Linked DNA regions of Homo sapiens: region 1 is linked to region 2. The links are contacts of gene promoters, found by promoter capture Hi-C in blood cells and fetal thymus (Javierre and others, 2016). All regions are on one chromosome and are shown on one strand. The core of a region is centred on a gene start or on the middle of the fragment in contact, and the rest is flanking DNA. Distances in the headings are between cores, read along the strand shown.

Region 1 (3,793 bases), core at 471-2,970, 280 kb after region 2:
GCAAGAGAAATAGCGCTCCTCACCAGGCAGGGTCAACATCTAACAAACGGCCATTCCTGTCACCAAAGAGATACTTTGTTAAAAGATTTACAGCAAGCCTTACTTCTACTTAATGCAATGCTTTACCTCTTAGATTTCTGGGATGAATTTGTTTAGTTCGAGGCATCTTCTTTGACTCAGGGCCTTCTTTTTCTTCTTAAAAACTGCAGATAAAGCAAGCCACCAAAAGGCAGCTCCATAAACTCAACATACATCAATTAATCCATGTGCTGAAAAAGAAAAAAACGGAGAAGCACATTTTACTACCTTCAGAGGAGAAAGATACTTTAAAAGTTACTGCCTAGCAGAGCACTAACCTAAACTCAAGAAAAAGTAACCAAGCTGGGCACCACTGCAAAAGATTACTAACTTTTAATTAAACAGAGGTCATTTTGTCAGTATCGGGACTTCTCATTAAGAAAACAGAAAAAAAACACCGTATCTTTATCAGACAAGAGTAAAAAAACTCACTTTGTGTTTTAAAACAACAATACCAGGAACAAGTAAAGTATCGCATCAGGCTACAAAAGGATTATGTTAGGCATGTATAGTAAATCTGCCCATTCATAGGGGCAGGGACAATGTCTTGTTCATCTTGTTTTAGAGTTAACTCAGTTAATACAAGGGGTTGCTACTGTGGCTACTCCAGTTATTCCAGACCTCTAGGTTCATGGTAGGACCACACTTTCTGCTTCCCTGTGTTTCCCAGGAACGTGTGAGGAGCTGTAGCTAACGACCTGTGAGCGGATGAGACTTCACTTCCAGGCTGGAGCATTTAGTTATTACCACAGCATGATCCTCCAGAGCTCTTCTCTCTCTGCCATGGGATCAGCACTGCTCCAGACAGCAAATCTGACACCACCACAAAGTCAGCTCTGGCTAACCCACGTGATCACACAGCATACGCCAGAAACACCTTTTTGTTTGCTTAAATAAGTGAGGTTTGAGAGTTATTTGTTACTGCAGCACAACCTAGCCTGTCCTGACTTACAGATTTTAAAACACAGTGATCTGAAATATAATAGGCCAAGATAAGAATGACCCAAAACCGAATCACCTATCTCCCCAAATCAGCCACCTCAGGCTCTTCCACAAGATTCTCAAGGATCTTAAAGCTGAAATTTTAACTTACTGCAAGAAAACTGAGAAGCAAAGCCCACTGTCACTGTTAAACATGAAACAATGTTTAGTCATTAAGCAAAGACACAAGAATAGAACAGTAAGGAAGGCTTAAAGCTTTTGTTATTAGTGGTACTGTAGAAGACAAGAGAACACTTATGAGCACCTACTATGTGCCTGTGTACTTTCTACACATTCCCTAATTTAATCTGTTAACTAAGAAGGTAGCTATCATTTATTCATTTTACAGATTAAAAAAAAATTGGATAAGTAACTTGTCCAAGATAAACAACTAAAGAATGTGGTACTGCATGACTCAGTTATATCCAGTGCTTATTTTGTGGAGCTGATAACATCTACTTTCAGGATTTCTTTCAAGAGGCGCAGCAAGTCATGACGACTTATCTTGGTGTCAAACCGGAGTGGGTTCAAAGCCAGGCTTTACCCCTTACTGTGTGGCCTTGTTCAGGTTACTTAACCTCTCTGAAGATCAGATTTCCCAACTGTAAAATTAGGAAATATTATCCACATCAGAAGGTTGTTATAAGGACTAAACTAAACATTGTAGACGCTTTGCCTGTCACACAAAAACGCTGAACTATTAATTCTCCTTAAGAAAGCCTATATGGGAAGGAATGTGTCTAACATCCCAGTATAAGGTTTTAGAAATTTATGGTTTCATTACAGCAAAGAAACAGAAGGTAAAGAAGGCCACGATTAACTTCAGTATTTTATCCCTGATCTGGCTGTATGTCAGCTCAGCACAAAATTATTTGCAATTTTTAACTACATGGTAAAATAATACAAAAAAAAATGATGGTCTAAGTATTTCATCTAGCATTGTGCTAAGTGATCTATAAAAGATAGGGTTTCTCAGCTCCTTGCTCTAAAGAAACATCCACTATCTAATTCAGGAAGGTTCTGATTCAATAAAGAATTGAGACACAGCTGAACCAAATAAATTGCATGAATGCTTAACTACGTTCGTTGTTAAACTTAAAGCTTTTAAATGGTAACGATATTTGGAAGTTTTTAAAGCGTGAACTCTGACTGTAATCCAATCATGTGATCCCATGGGATCCGGAGCATAAATGTAAAATATGCACATTCCCTGTCCGTAAAGGCTTTCTGCTACCCCGTTCATTGCCTACCCACTGTCCCTAGCTGTCCATCCCATATTTAAATCCTTGTGGGGGGAAGTGGGTATTTCCAAAGACAGCAGCATTGTAGCGACTAGGACGAGTGATAAACCGTTCCTTTACGGGAAAGAAATAAATACTACATGGAGCAAAAACATGACACGATCAAAAAGCGTAAAGACAGTTGCAAGGAGAAAAAACATGAATGAATGTGGAGGGCGGAGCCTGGGAAAACCCCTCTGCAACGCTGCACTGAACAAAGCGCTTCGCATGCCAGGAGGAGGGGGGGAATGGAAGTGCCAGCTCAGGAAGGAGCCTGGAGTGGATGCAGAGAGCTGAGGAGGAGGAGGACGAGATGAGGCGAGCGCGGCAGCCCTGAGACTCCTCCTCGCCGCCTGCTCCGCCGCCGCCCCCTCCCCTCTCCAGCCAGCAACTCCTTCCCGAGCCCGACCCCAAGGCGAGCCCGAGCCGACCCGCACCCCAACCCACCGCCCCCTTCCCAACTGCAGCTGGCGCGCACTCCCAACCCGGAAAGAAACTACCCAGGTGGCCGGGAGTAAACAGGCACTTAGAGCAAAGAACGAAAGGGAAAGAAACCCACAAAGCCGGGAGGTTGGGATGCCGAGGCCTGGTCTCTTTCACCCCCCACCCTCTTGCAAAATGCGTCTGCGGCTGGAAGGCGGCTGGGGAGGCTGGGTCCCTCTGTACCTGCTCGGCTCGCGCGCGGCGAGGGCGCCCAGAAGTGCCAAGGGTCTCCCGCACGCAGCCATCCCCTCTGCAAGGTCGGCGGTTGCACACACACGCACACACACACACACACGCGCGCCCGCACGCCCCCCGCCCGCCGAAGGGATGTGCTCCTGCCCCCCCCCCCCTCCGCCCCGCCGCCCTCCCCAGCTGCAGCGCCCCCGCCGCGGAGCCCGCGCCGAACCTGCTGCCAGGACGCCCGGCGGAGCCGCTGCCGCTGCAGCCGGCCCTGGAGCTGCGCTGCTGATGGCGGCGGCCGCGGCTCGGGATCTCCGCGACCCCCGCGCGGCGGCGGCGGCGGCGCCTGGGATCCCTCCTTCACTTGACAACCCCAAACACAAACATAACCTCCTCCGGCGGCCGCCGCTCCCCGGTCCCCCGCTCCGTCCGCCACCCTGCCGCCGCCCAGCAGCCGCCACGCTGAAGGCCGGCGACTGGCGCTCACACCACCCAGCACTGAAATATTAAACAGGGGAGCGGGCCGGGGGGCGGGGGGGGGAGCGCGGGGCGCGCGGGCGGGGGCCGCAGCCGCCGGGCGGAGGAGGCGGCGAAGCTCGCCGGCGCCCGGAGCCACGGCATGATCGCGGCCGCCAGGGAGCCGGGCAGCCGGGCTGGGGGGCGCGCGCCGCGGCGGGGCGGGCGGACAGACCCTGGGGCCGCGGGGCCCGGGGCGGGAAGGACGGGCGCGGGCTTTACCTCTCCCCCGGGGCAGAGTAGGGCACGTTTAGCGTCTTTGGGGCCGGCGGGAG
Region 2 (3,637 bases), core at 642-3,141:
AGATAAAAGCAGATGAAGCACACAGCCTGCCATCAGCAAGAAACACAGAAAAAAGGGCTCTTTATTTTTTTCCCTCCTTAACATGAGTTCACCTTTTGCCTCCCCCTCATGCCCTTGGCTTATCCACCTTCAGGGAGATTACACAAATGCAGAGGAGATAAACACCTGAAAAGGGACTTCCCCCACCCCTCTTGAAGCAGGCTCAGGGAAATGCTGTGGAATGCTGCCTGTTGAAAATCCGGCTGGCTTCTACAAGGAACTTGGTAGGACAGCACTATCCACTGAAGCTTACTTAACATTGGCACATGACTAAAGACAAGAAATCACAGTTATTCCTAGCTTTGGGGCCACTTCCCCATTCAGGATGACCCTCTCTTTAGGGGGTACCCATCCACTTCACATGCTGTGTAGGGCACAGGGTACCCCAGATGATGTATATCTTTCAAAATTAGGTGGGGAAAATGATTGGAGAGAGAAATTAACTATTCAATATTCAATTCAGGAGGGTAACTCCATAGAAACCAGTGACCTAAGGTGGGGCTGAGAAGCAGGTCAGGGGACTGAAGGTAGGCTGGGGGGATTTTGAATTCCGAATCCCTGGGCATCAGGCTTGTGTGGGATCCACTGCCTCCCCCTTCTCCACTACTGCCTTGCCTCTTCCTCCTAACAATTTAGCCATGCAGCTTATCTGCCCAATTTTGTACATTTCAAATGATCAGACACATTCCAGGATTTTCATTCCCTTGACATCCTTTCTCTTTAGTCAGGGTCACGAAAAGACAAAAAAAGTGCACTGACCCTAAAAACGGGGGGGACCCGGGCAGATGCACACGCACTGCCTAAATCCTTCGGCAGCCAAGAATTATCCTAGCTCCCCTCCCAGCACAGGTGAATAAAGCTGAAAAGAGAGCTCACACTGTTTTGGGTGCCAAAAACCTGCCAAAAGAAACCTAAAGTCAATGATGACAAATTTTAAAGAAAACATCTGCTTCACCCAGAAACCGCCTGCGGGGGGTGGTGGCGGGGGGGGGGGGAGGCGGTAGTTAGTCAACAGACTTTTGCTCTGCAGGTGATTTTACTGAACATACATTGCTTGAACGACTGGATACAATTCCTTGGCTTCAAGCTGGAATGCTTAAATATTTTACACGTTAACACACTATTAAAATAGTGTTTAAATAAGATTTAAGTTCCTATATGGCCTGTGTACCTGTATAAACACATATATTACAAACATACATTTGACTAAATTGTATATGTCCATACTCTTCTCATTTTTTAAAAGCCAAGGAAACACATAATGGAATAATAATAATAAAACGATAAGTTATTTTAATGTCATGTTATAGTCAATTGCACCTAATTGTATTCAATAGAGGAATTTTACATTTTACACTAGAAGACTTAAAGTAGCTTTCAGCAATAATTCTCAGACACTTGCTCTCTAAGCTGCAGTCATAAAAAGAACGGGGAAAAATAGAAGCAAGAAAAGCATGAAGGTGGATAAGAACACACTAACTTGTAATTCCGAGACTTACAAGTCAACGAGCGTGCCTACCTGTTTCTGGAGCTCCTTGGCAAGCCACAAACAGCAGAGAGAAAATCATGAGCAAATAATCCATTCTGAAAAAAAGGGATCAAAAACCTCCCGTTCAAACTGAACCCAAAGGAAAACGAAGAAAAACAGCTTCAGGTCCCTCAAAGCGCTGCGGGTTCCTCAGATCTCAAAGCGATCCTTCAGCCCAAGTGCCCTTTTAACGGGGAGAAAAGGCAGCGCCTGCCAGGAGAGAAGGCAGCGAGCGGAGCGTCTGCAGGCGCACGCGGCGGTGGAGAGCTGGGACTGCAGGAGGCGCAGGACCCGTTCGCCTGGCGCAGATGCAGAGGCGCGTCTGACTTGGACAGCTCTCTGCCGGCTTTTTATATTGAACCCCTATTAGAGTGGGGGTAAACAGCTCCGACTTTATTCCAGCCCCAGACAATGTTATTGTGTTATTAGTCACCAACAGGCAACGTGCAGCCGGAGATAAGGCCAGGCCCGAAAGGAAATCACTGCTAACTTCAGAGGCAGACGCCCGCCGTCTGACAATTCGGGGGCAGGGCTAAGAAAAAGAAAATACCCATTAGAGACCTTTGCTAAACCTGCCCGTGCAGTGCTGGAGTCCGCTTCCCCTTTGCAAGCTGCCAGCCCCGGAGTTCAAGAATCAGAAGAGGGGACTCCAGAAAAAAAGTCATACCATTGGTATGAAAAGTATGAGCCACAGTTTAAATAGATTGTATTGTTGTGTGCGGGGAATTTTTTTTAATTGTTGCTCGCTTCATTTTCCTTTTATGTCTCTCCGATTCTAGTCTCAGTCAAACAAGGGAATGCTCTCCCTCGTCACTGCCCCACTACTGGGGGTCAGACTATTTTGGCAGATCAACGTACTTTTCTCTTCAAGCCCCTTCCTGCGGGTCTTTTTTGCTGAAGTTCTTTGCATCTATCGGAGAAAGATCCGTGAGGGATTGGCAAGAAAGGGAGCTTAAAAATAACATCAGAGCTCGTTTAGGCACATGCCCAGTCTTTTCCCTATCACTGATGAGAAGCCCCGATAAGTTCTTTTGTGTGTCCACACTTCCCCTGCGGAGGAGGCTGATAAACTGATTGAAAAGCAAAGGTGTTTTTCACACAGAACTTAAATCTTAAGATTGGTCGGTGCCACCAATCTTAAGACATGGCGGGAGAAGAACACCAGGGGGAGATGAAGAGCTACAGGGGCTGATGTTTTACTAGGACAAAAAGGAAAACCCTTCTAAATGGCAGAAAAAAACGCAACCTGGCTTGGGGGCCGAGGAGGGTCAAGGAATGTTGCCTAACATAGGAAGGAGGAATGCACCTCAGAATATTCTATTTATTCCCCGCACAAGCAGGGACATATTTTCTGGGACTCTTTTTTTTGGGGGGGTGTCTTCATTTAGGGCAAAAAGGTGTTCTTGTACAAGGTTAAGTGAATATGCAAGGAAGGTGGTGCTGAGAAGGAAATGCCATTCGAACAAGGAATCAGATAATACTTCACATTTAATAATGTGTTTACATTTTCAAAACAATTTCCTGTCTATCTAACCTTGAAATCCCCCCCTGAAGTACACACAGGGCAGTTACTGTACAGGTGACATCATGCCTTAATAAAGAAAGCAAAAGGTGCATGGAACACATTGGCTTTTTCCGCTAGTCCCATTTTTCAGGTTAGACAACTGAGCACCCAGAATTTTTGTTTGTTCTCCACCAAAGCGCTCACAGTGGCCCAGTAAGACCTATGGGATAAATTTAGAGTCTCTTCCCAGGGGATGCCATCAAATACACACTTTGTCCATCTCCTCTTTTTGTTTTACTCCAGTTTTTCTGGGGATGGAGGGTGGAATTCAAGCACGGATGAATTTCCAAGACTGGCACAACACACATGCTGGGAAACCTTTTTTCCCTCCTCCTTCTAAAATCAAAAGGACAGTTTTTATCCCAACAGCAAAGCCGTGGGTTTGGACAGACTCAGATCCCCAGACCTCCCTCGAAGTCACAGCTGGGGGAACAGGGACAGTGGCAGCGACAGGTCCATAATGACATGCATCCTCTAAAAGAGCCACTGAAGCAAGAGTTGGAGAT

The links. The method cuts DNA at HindIII sites, captures the fragments that hold promoters and counts their contacts. A CHiCAGO score of 5 or more calls a contact.
Region 1: a contact is called between a fragment that was not itself captured here and the fragment with the promoter of EDN1 in region 2, in 4 of 17 cell types (endothelial precursors, M2 macrophages, M0 macrophages and 1 more). The highest score is 8.4, in endothelial precursors.

Annotation. Positions count from the first base shown.
Region 1 is chr6:12,012,002-12,015,794 of GRCh38, reverse strand. It overlaps HIVEP1 (HIVEP zinc finger 1), which reads right to left and starts at 3,483. Exons shown (of 9, transcript NM_002114.4): 1 at 3,229-3,483; 2 at 127-269. The coding sequence starts at 166. RefSeq lists silencers at 3,329-3,468, 3,649-3,793. The HindIII fragment of the contact is 885 bases long and covers 1,278-2,162 here.
Region 2 is chr6:12,288,615-12,292,251 of GRCh38, reverse strand. EDN1 (endothelin 1) reads right to left here and starts at 1,891. Exons shown (of 5, transcript NM_001955.5): 1 at 1,559-1,891. The coding sequence starts at 1,622. RefSeq lists enhancers at 1,959-2,028, 2,039-2,138, 3,282-3,637. The HindIII fragment of the contact is 4,555 bases long and covers 290-3,637 here.